2 separate regions of the Homo sapiens genome follow, and region 2 is linked to region 1. The links are contacts of gene promoters, found by promoter capture Hi-C in human tissues and cell types (Jung and others, 2019). All regions are on one chromosome and are shown on one strand. The core of a region is centred on a gene start or on the middle of the fragment in contact, and the rest is flanking DNA. Distances in the headings are between cores, read along the strand shown. Region 1 holds the start of HNRNPU (heterogeneous nuclear ribonucleoprotein U). Region 2 overlaps DRC8 (dynein regulatory complex subunit 8).

Region 1 (5,065 bases), core at 2,566-5,065:
TCTCGGCTCACCGCAACCTCTGCCTCCAAGGCTCAAGCGATTCTCCTGCCTGAGCCCCTCTAGTAGCTGGGATTACAGGCGCCTGCCACCGAACCCGGCTAATCTTGTATTTTTAGTAGAGACCATGTTGGTCAGGCTGGTCTCAAACTCCCGACCTCAGGTGATCCGCCCGCCTTGGCCTCCCAAGGTGCTGGGATTACAGGCTTGAGCCCACACTGCTCCCGGCTCTTTTTCTTTTTCTTTCTTTCTTTCTTTTTTTTTTTTTTTTTAGACGGAGTCTCGCTCTGTTGCCCGGGCTGGAGTGCAGTGGTGCGATCTCGGCTCACTGCAAGCTCCGCCTCCAGGGTTCACGCCATTCTCCTGCCTCAGCCTCCCGAGTAGCTGGTATTACAGGCGCACGCTGCCACGCCCAGCTAATTTTTTGTATTTTTAGTAGAGATGGGGTTTCACTGTGTTAACCAAGATGGTCTTGATCTCCTGACCTCATGATCCGCCCGCCTCGGCCTCCCACAGTGCTGGGATTATAGGCGTGAGCCACCGCGCCCGGCCTTTTTTTTTTTTTTTTTTTTTTGAGACGAAGTTTTGCTTTGTCCCCCAGGCTGGAGTTCAGTGGCTCAGTCTCAGCTCACTGCAACCTCCGCCTCCCAGGTTCAAGTGATTCTCCTGCCTCAGGCTCCTGAGTAGCTGGGATTACAGGCGGCCACCACCACGCCTGGCTATTTTTTGTGTTTTTAGTAGAGATGGGGTTTCAACATGTTGGCCAGGCTGGTCTCGAACTCCTGACCTCAGGTGATCTGCCCACCTCAGCCTCCCAAAGTGCTGGGATTACAGGTGTGAGCCACCACTCCCGATCTTGTTTTTTGTTTTGTTTTGTTTTTTTTGGGGGGCGGGGGGGAATGAGAATATTTAACGTAAGATCTTAACGGGTTTTTTTCTTTTTCTTTCTTTTTTCTTTTTTTTTTTTTTTGAGACAGGGTCTCCCTCTGTGGTCCAGGTTAGAGTGCAGTGGTACAATCACGGCTCACTGCAGCCTTGACTGCCGGGGGTCAAGTGATCCTGCTACCTCAGCCCCTTGAGTAGCTCGGACTACAGGCGTACCACCACAGCCACCTAATTTTAATTTTTTGTGGAGATGGAGTCTCACTGTGTTCCTCAGGCTGGTTTCGAACTCCTGGCCTCAAGCCATCTTCCCATCTCGGCCTCTCGAAGTGCTGGGATTACAGACATGAGCCGCTGGGCCTGGCCAGCAAATTTTTAAGTGCAGGATACTTTGTTAACTGTAGATCTCTGGAACTGCCTCATCGTTATGACTATAAAATGTTTTTGAGAAAGTATTGAAAAAATATTTGCTGAATAAATTGTGTGACAAAGTATAGCATTTCCTTTGCTTAAACCTCAAAAATGTAAGCTAGACATGCAGAGCACCAAAACTTTGTAGTTACCTCTCACAGATCAATTATTCATAGGTCATTCTTGAATCATTTTTTGTTATTGAGAATTAACTTGTCTCCTCCGGCACGCGGTATTCTTGGTAGCCTCTAGGATTTGACACAGGGGGAATTTAAATTGTCTTAGAGGTCCTTCAGAGATTTACAGGAAGTGACCTGCACTTTAACAGGTCTCTGTAGAGCAGGACTATCATGATAGCATTAAAAATATAAGAAGCAAAAATGATCAATAAGATGTCACCATTTGTACTTTGAAGTGGTAACATAAGACTATGGAATGGCATATTTCCTCTGTTTGTGAAAAGGATAGTATGATGATGGTTCTTTGAGCAGAAATTGTTTTTCTTTCAAATGTTGTCTAAGACAGCACAATGTAATAGAAAGCCCATTGGTGTGGGGGGTGAGGGTCCCAGCTTCCTGGGCAGTAAAATGAACAGGACTGCAGATCGATCTCCAGGCCCCATCCAGCTCTAAAGTTCTCCAAAACTTTTGGAGATAAAGCCATAGAACTTTCTTGTGAGCATCAAAAGTTGTATTTCATGTTTATTTTTGCAACTGACTTAATGTTCCAAGAGTGACTGTTACAGATCTACTATATGTAGATATACAATCTTTGTTTTCATAGTTTAGTGTTTTCCAGTAAATGAAATTTGTTTTCATATAACTAATATTTAAAGGTGTAAATAATATCTAGGACACATAAATTTAAGGAACCATCATAATTGTATTTAACTCTGATTCATTAAGGGATTAGTTATCTAGTTTGTGAACATGTAAACCCCCTGTAGCTCTCTTCCCATTTCTGAACGAAGACAAAATTTCAAATTCCAGTTTGTGGCTTATTCATAACCTTCAAAATTATAACCAAAGGCTAAAATGAGTTTCTGGCACTGTTTGGAAGTTTCTATTTTGGGGGCTATCCTCACCACTTAACTTGAACTGGGGATTATCAGTAGTACTGTACATAGTCCATTAATTTCAAGTCAAATCATTTCACAAGTGTTAATATTTCACGTATACATGACTGCAAGGTATGGTAGAATGCTTCATAAAAGCTACCGAAAATAAACTTCAAAAATAAAATGTATCAATTAGTTAAATCATATTAGCCTATGGGAGAAATTTCAATGTGTTTACTTCCAAATTTCAAATTAATAATGGGGCAATATTATTGTGCCACCTAGAGCACCAAACAGTGGGTATAAACCATCTCCTTAGTCAGATGGAACACTGGCTGGACACTGCAGATTATCTAGGGTTTAAAATGTTAACTTCTATCACGAATCTAAATTCTGACTTCCCTATCTAAAACTTCGAGACATCACATCTTTTCTTTAAAGAGAAAAAGTAAACTTCTAACATATAAAATAACGGATTTCAAGAGCGATAGTCCATTTTTCTTTTTACAAAATCACAGCCCTTGATTTTTCGTAAACTTTAAGTTTCAGAATAATTTGGTCAAGAGTATTTCTACAGGAATAGGAAGAGAATCAAGTGGGCCTATAATCAAAGACCTAGTTGGGTCTCACCCTCACGGTTAGCTACTGGGACTTCGTAGCTGATGACCAGGTCCTAAAGTGGACAGAACAAGTGTTACTGGAGGTCCGTCTTTGTGGTAGCTACAGAAAACTTGGAAATGCAATTCTGAGGTTTATTCAGGGTTATTAAGAGCATGAGAATAGCTGCCCTGCAAAGGCAGGTACACTAAGGTTTGCAGTATGGAGTAGTAAGCAAAGCCTCTACTTCCCAGGCCCCGCACCCGGGGTGTGGAACAGACAAAAGAACGGTTCTGCCCTTGCCCTTCTCGAACTTAAAATCCAATTCGCAAGGCAGGACTTACACAAATTAAACCAAATACGGTATTATGAGGAAAAGAGCCGCTGCGTGTAACAGTTGCCAATGTATGCTATACCAGTCAAAACTGAAATACGATTTGAAGGAGTTTTAAACGAAGAGCTGGAGAAACACATAAGAAGGCAGATCTAAGATGGAAGAAAAGGCGGATTCGGGTTGAAACGCCAAGTTGAGGACTGAAGAAAGCATTTGGATAAAGCAGCCTCCAAGCTGGGAAGGAGAAAAGCCAAACGAGTATAGCCACCAAAGACCCAGAAAGGCCAATATATCATGCAGTGAGTCGGTTGAACTGAAAGGCGGTTTCCTTTTCCTCCATTTGCTCAGTCCCAATTGGAAGCGCACTGCGCGGCCTCCACCGCGCTCTCGGCCCGGGTTCGGCGTGGGGGCGGGGAGGTAAGTACGGTAATGGGCGGGGCCGAGCGCGGGCGCGCTCCGGCTTTCCTCCTGCGCAGTGCTCCCGTCAGCGCAGGGGGCGGGGCGCCTATATTACGTGCGCGGCGCCGCTCCTGCGAGAGGACGTTGCGTGCTCGCTCGCGCCAGGCGAGTCTCCGCGTCTCCCTCGCGAACTCGGTGAAAGGAATTGGCGCCGTTCGACACCAGGCGGATCCGCTCTGCAGCACGAACCCATCTCCAGCCGCAGCCGCAGCCGCCGCCCGGGCCGAGGAGCAGCCGCAGCAGCCGCCACCAGTGGCCGAGTGAGCGGAGCCGAGTTTGAGGCAGCGCCTAGCGGTGAATCGGGGCCCTCACCATGAGTTCCTCGCCTGTTAATGTAAAAAAGCTGAAGGTGTCGGAGCTGAAAGAGGAGCTCAAGAAGCGACGCCTTTCTGACAAGGGTCTCAAGGCCGAGCTCATGGAGCGACTCCAGGCTGCGCTGGACGACGAGGAGGCCGGGGGCCGCCCCGCCATGGAGCCCGGGAACGGCAGCCTAGACCTGGGCGGGGATTCCGCTGGGCGCTCGGGAGCAGGCCTCGAGCAGGAGGCCGCGGCCGGCGGCGATGAAGAGGAGGAGGAAGAGGAAGAGGAGGAGGAAGGAATCTCCGCTCTGGACGGCGACCAGATGGAGCTAGGAGAGGAGAACGGGGCCGCGGGGGCGGCCGACTCGGGCCCGATGGAGGAGGAGGAGGCCGCCTCGGAAGACGAGAACGGCGACGATCAGGGTTTCCAGGAAGGGGAAGATGAGCTCGGGGACGAAGAGGAAGGCGCGGGCGACGAGAACGGGCACGGGGAGCAGCAGCCTCAACCGCCGGCGACGCAGCAGCAACAGCCCCAACAGCAGCGCGGGGCCGCCAAGGAGGCCGCGGGGAAGAGCAGCGGCCCCACCTCGCTGTTCGCGGTGACGGTGGCGCCGCCCGGGGCGAGGCAGGGCCAGCAGCAGGCGGGAGGTAAGAAGAAGGCGGAAGGCGGCGGAGGCGGCGGTCGCCCCGGGGCTCCGGCGGCGGGTGAGTGCTGCGTTGTACGTTGCGCGCGGCGGGAGGCCCGCGCGGGGTGGGGACCGTGCCCCAGGCCTGCCGGAGCCCCGCAGGGGGAGGGAGCCCCGGGCGGGAGGGCGCCGCGGTGAGGGTGGGGGAGGGGGCGCGGGGAATCCCAGATTAGCCGAGAGGCCTCGGGCTCGGGGCGTGTGTGTGCGCGCGCGCGTGTGTGTGTGTGTGTGTGTGTGTGTCGGCGGTGGCAGCGCCTCCATTATGTGGCTCGAGAGCCGGGGGGAGCTGCAGCTGCCGCTGTAGGGGGAGGAGCCGCGGGCGGGCGGCGGGAGGGAGCCCGGT
Region 2 (5,065 bases), core at 333-2,832, 180 kb before region 1:
GAGTGGCTCCCTGCTGCTGGAAGAGAGATGGCTTTTCAGATGGACTCGTTGAGCCCCAGGCTCAGCTCATCAGCGGTAGCAATGGCTCGCCCTCTAAAACGGAGCAGCGGCTCCCAGCTGAAGGATCACACTGACCTCAGCTCAAGGCAGCTCACCAGTCAGGTGCCTTTCAGTGGCAATTTGTTGACATAGTTGCCCAGTAAAGGCAATATAAGAGAGCGAGTGAGAAGAAAAAAATACAAGGGCAAATGAGGTAGGGGAAGGGAGGTGGTGTTTAAATATTAATCGCCCTTTCCTCTCAAATGTCTCTTTCCTCAAATGATAATGAAATGAGATGCATTTATTTCAAAAGGACTTCCAAATTCCTTGAGATGAGAATAAAAACAAATTACAGCAGAAGCAAAAACGACTCAGAGCTTCTCTTGTCCTCCCATGTTCTGAAATACGGGGCTAGAGGCAAAAATGACCGAATGATCCTATGCACTATCCTCGCATCGTATTTCTGGTGCCAAAGACATGGGAAAACAGCAGAAGGGGCCAGGTGAGCCCTGCACATGTCCAGATGGTATCCGGATGGAGCTGGGATCCTGGCCACAGTGGAGGAAACCGTATTGCTAACAGTTCAGCCTCAGGAGTAGTGAGGATCCTAAAGGTGAGCTAAGAATAAAAGAGACAGCGAGAAGGAGCACAGGTCAGGAAAATATGAGGCCATTAATTCTGAGAAAGAGATCGAGGTCTGTCTGCAAAGGGAGACAGCTGAAGAGAAAAATGTAAAAACACTGAAATAAGTGAAAAGAAAGTTACAGGAGATAGGAAAAAAATTCATAGCTTAATGATGAAAATAAAAGAAAGAAGTTTAGAAATAAGAAAACAAGACATTAGACAGGAACTAGAAAATGAAACAAAAATATAACATAATTGATAAAATCATATATAATATTAAGGTTGGTTAACCTATTTCTACTAAATGAAACTTTGAATTAAGTGAATTGATTGAAGATTCAAGTAAAGCTTTTAGGCCAGGCTGAGGCAGGGCAATAGGGTCTGGAGGCAGGGATCCTAAGGCTATTTCACACTGACTTCCTAGAACTAAATTGAAAGGAAAACCCTAACTTTCCAGCCTAAGTAACAAAAGGACCAGAGGCTACTCCCTTTGCAAACTCACTACCTTTTCTGGTAGGCAGATGGGAAATTGGCTGTCTGCAACAAACCAGACTGACTGCGGGTTGAGTCTTCGTTTGCATCTTTGTTCACTCCGGCCTCTGAATGGTTGCTGTCCACAACCAGTCAGACCGATGGCTGCTGTCCACAACCAGTCAGACTAATGGCCTGCCAAGTCTGTTTGCACAGAGGTATAACTTTGTAACTTCACCCTAGCCTCTGATTGGCTGCGAAAACCAACTCCTGTTTGCACAGGGGTGTGACCTTTGTAACTTCACTTCAGCCTCTGGTTGGCTGCTTTCTGCAACCATTCAGACTGACTGTGGGCTAGCACTTCATTTACATGAGATGGACGTGAAGTGGCCAATGGAAAACTGCTAGCGGGTATTTGGACCCAAGAAGATTCTGCATCTGGACCCTGGAGCTGCTGCTCTGGCCCACTCCCACACTGTGGAGTGTACTTTCATTTTCAATGAATCCCTGCTTTTGTTCTTTTGTTGCTTCATACTTTGCTTTGCTTTGCTGGGCATTTTGTCCAATTCTTTGTTCAAAATGCCAAGAACCTGGACAACTTGCAGTCACAACCCTCGACCAGTGACAAGGCAAGGTGGCTCACACCTGTGATCCCAGCACTGTGGAAGGCTGAGGCGGGAGGACCACCTGTGTCCAGGAGTTCAAGACCACCCTGAGCAATACAGTAAGAACCTGTTTCTACAAAAAAATGTAAAATTAGCCAGGCATGGTGGTGTGTGGCTGTAGTTCCAGCTACCCTGGAGGCTGAGATGGGAGGATGACTTGAGCAGGTGAGGTTGAAGCTGCAGTGAGCTCTGTGATGCTGCCATCACACGGCAGCCTGGGTGACAGAACAAGACTCTGTCTCAACATAAATAAATTCAATTAAATTAAAGCAACCTTTTAAAACCATTTTTAACATTATTAAAATTATTAAAGAATTTAAATTATTGAAGTTATCTTTTCAAAAAACTATTTAAAAAACTGAAACCAAGCCAGCCATGGTGGCTCACACCTGTAATCCCAGCACTTTGTTGGGGCTGGGTCGGGGGAGGGGGTACCGAGGTAGGTGGATCACTTGAGGTCAGGAGTTCAAGACCAGCCTGACCAACATGGTGAAATGCCATCTCTACTAAAAATACACAAACACACACACACAAATAGCCAGGCGTGGTGGCAGGCGCCTGTAATCCCACCTACTAAGGAGGCTGAGGCAGGAGAATCCCTTGAACCCGGGAGGTAGAGCCGAGATGGTGCCACTGCACTCCAGCCTGGGCAACAGAACGAGACTCCGTCTCAAAAAAAGTAAATAAATAAATAAATAAATAAATAAATAAATAAATCCAGCCTGGGCGACAGAGTGAGACTCCGTCTCAAAAATAAATAAATAAATGATAAAATAAAATAAAAAACTGAAACCAATGTAGTAAAATAAAATTAAAATCGTTTTTTAAAGTTTAATAATTCCTTCTTTTGTTAAGTTTTTGGAGTAGAGAAAAAACATATAAACTCGTTTTGCATATAGTAATGGGCTGGTTATCACTGGCTCCTCATAGGCAAAAAGTCCTGATTTGGATCCTTTTTTATTTCCATTGTGGTTTTATTTCCATTGTTCCAAGATCGATTTCAAGCTGCCAATTACAAACATGAAATCACTAAAGGTGGAGTCTGGAAGAAATGACAATAGCATACCATTATATGGTACATCCACCACACATACACTAGACACAAATAACCTCAAAGTATGAGTAAAATATAATAAAGTAATTACGAAGTGGTAAATTGTATTTATTACAATTACCTTTCTTTTTGTCATTGTTAATAAAAGCATTTATTTTGCATTTAATACAGAATAACCTGAAAAAATATGGAACGCTTCACAAATGTGTGTGCCAGCCTGTGTAGGTGCCACGCTCATCTTCTCGATGTTGTTCTGATCTTAGATAAGTGCTGCTGAAGAAAGCACCCTTGTTTTTTAATATAACTGAATTGTCTATATAATTTATTTCTAATATAAACTAGCTTTAACAATAGTTTGCAGAACTCCTGAAATTTAGCCATTAGCTCTTGTGAGCTGGGATAAGTCGGCACGGTCTGGCTCCAGCACACCACTGACGCTGAGAGTCAAAATCACTTCATTCAGACAGCTAAAGAGGCCTTCCTGGGGCCGTCCCTGCACGGGTTCATCTCCTCAACAGCGAGAGTGGCCAGGAGCAACTCACTCAGTATTCTACCATGTACACAAAACAGAAATCAAATACTACTCTTGAAAATAAAATGTTGTCCCTTTGAAAAATAATTTTCTTCCTTTTAAATCGATTTCATGGGATTAAAAAAACGCTAACTCCTCAATTTTGGTAGGCTTTTGAAAGAAAGTGAAAATCAACTGTTCCATATAAAGTATTTAAAATATGCTGAGACATTTGATTTCTTTTTCTTTCTTTCTTTTTTTTTTTCCTTTGAGACAGAGTCTCGCTCTGTCGCCCAGGCTGGAGTGCAGTGGCATAATCTCGGCTCACTGCAACCTCCGCTTCCCAGGTTCAAGCAATTCTCCTGCCTCAGCCTCCCAAGTAGCTGGGATTACAGGTGCCCACCACCATGCCCAGCTAATTTTTTGTGTTTTTAGTAGAGACAGAGTTTCACCATGCTGGCCAGGCTGATCTCAAACTCCTGACTTCAAGTGATCCGCCCGCCTAGGTCTCCCAAAGTGCTGGTATTGCAGGCGTGAGCCACCGCACTCAGTCAACATTCGATTTCTTTTGTCAACGTAGATGTCTTATATTGATAAGAAGTACAAACTAACTCCAAAAGCCTTTATGGTTACAAGTATTAAAAATGTTTTTCTGTACCTGTGCTATATATATAGTAGTGGGCATAGGAGTAAGACTATTTGGAGCAAATGAGCCCCAATAAGGTGGCCCAATCGTGGTGTCATCATTTAATTATGTATAGCATTTGGACCACTTAAAATGTTTGACCCGGGGAAGCTTGGTTCTTGGCAGGCTGGCATTTAGTGGGTGTAGTATCAAGTTCCTGACACAAGGGGGAGCCAGTGCCATTGAGCTAGGCTGTGACTTCAGTTTAAGGGCAGCCTAAGGTCAAAAACACCAAAGTGAAGACCAGATTCAGAATATTTCACACAATTATAAGAGACAAAAAAAAATAGGCAAAACATTTTACCTGCTCTATTAAATAGCTAATATTATGCTAAGGATAAGAGAACATTTAAAGCAATCCAAAAATGTCTAAGGACAAAGCAGGATCTGAAAATGTTTTCATTCATTTAACAAATATTTGAACCCTATGATGTGCTGGTATCGTTTACAGAACAGCAGAGAACAAAATAAAGACCTCGCCCTTACGGAGGGCATTTTTCACACATGTACCTTATTTTGGAAAAGCCATGAAATGAAGGTAAAATAATGACGAAATCTCTTTCTTCAGCAGAGCTATTCTGTTCAAAAAAGGCCTCTTTTATCCAAGGTCCCTCTAATCAAGAGATCGTGTCTCCACTGCTAAGATATGCTTCCTGAACACCTGGTTCTAACTTGCTGCAGTGTTATTTCTTATATAGTCCTATGTGCTAGAGTTTGTAGCCCCCTAAAAAACTCTGGATCTCCTGTATATCATTAAAAACAAAAGCTCTACAAAATACTGGATATTACAGAGTGACTGAGAAACAATTTAACCACACGGTCACTTTTCATGTGCCATGGCGCAGGCACTCCGCAGCATTGCGATTACTATGAATTAGACAAAATCCCTGCTGTAATGGAACTTACAATCAAGGGAGTGAAAGAGTAAACATAAATAAATCTAAGCGAATTTTAGGTAGTGATAAATACAATGAAGAGATCAGCACCATACCCATGATTGTCATAGCTCTATCAGT

What was found. Contacts are between HindIII fragments. The study calls those that stand out against the background at their distance.
Region 2: a fragment that was not itself captured here is called in contact with the fragment with the promoter of HNRNPU in region 1 in 1 of the 25 tissues and cell types used here (heart left ventricle).

Annotation. Positions count from the first base shown.
Region 1 is chr1:244,863,293-244,868,357 of GRCh38, reverse strand. HNRNPU (heterogeneous nuclear ribonucleoprotein U) reads left to right here and starts at 3,815. Exons shown (of 14, transcript NM_031844.3): 1 at 3,815-4,741. The coding sequence starts at 4,051. It overlaps LOC124904588 (UPF0764 protein C16orf89-like), which reads left to right. Exons shown (of 4, transcript XM_047439568.1): 3 at 3,627-3,695; 4 at 3,772-3,876. The coding sequence ends at 3,876. RefSeq lists enhancers at 3,386-3,445, 2,779-3,609, 3,610-4,441 and silencers at 3,666-3,765, 4,746-5,065. The HindIII fragment of the contact is 13,439 bases long and covers 1-5,065 here.
Region 2 is chr1:245,042,002-245,047,066 of GRCh38, reverse strand. The region is part of intron 3 of DRC8 (dynein regulatory complex subunit 8); the gene reads right to left. It also overlaps the pseudogene RNU6-999P. Among named protein-coding and RNA genes, the nearest start is that of EFCAB2-AS1, 74 kb to the right of the region's middle. RefSeq lists enhancers at 1-36, 37-537. The HindIII fragment of the contact is 6,532 bases long and covers 1-4,848 here.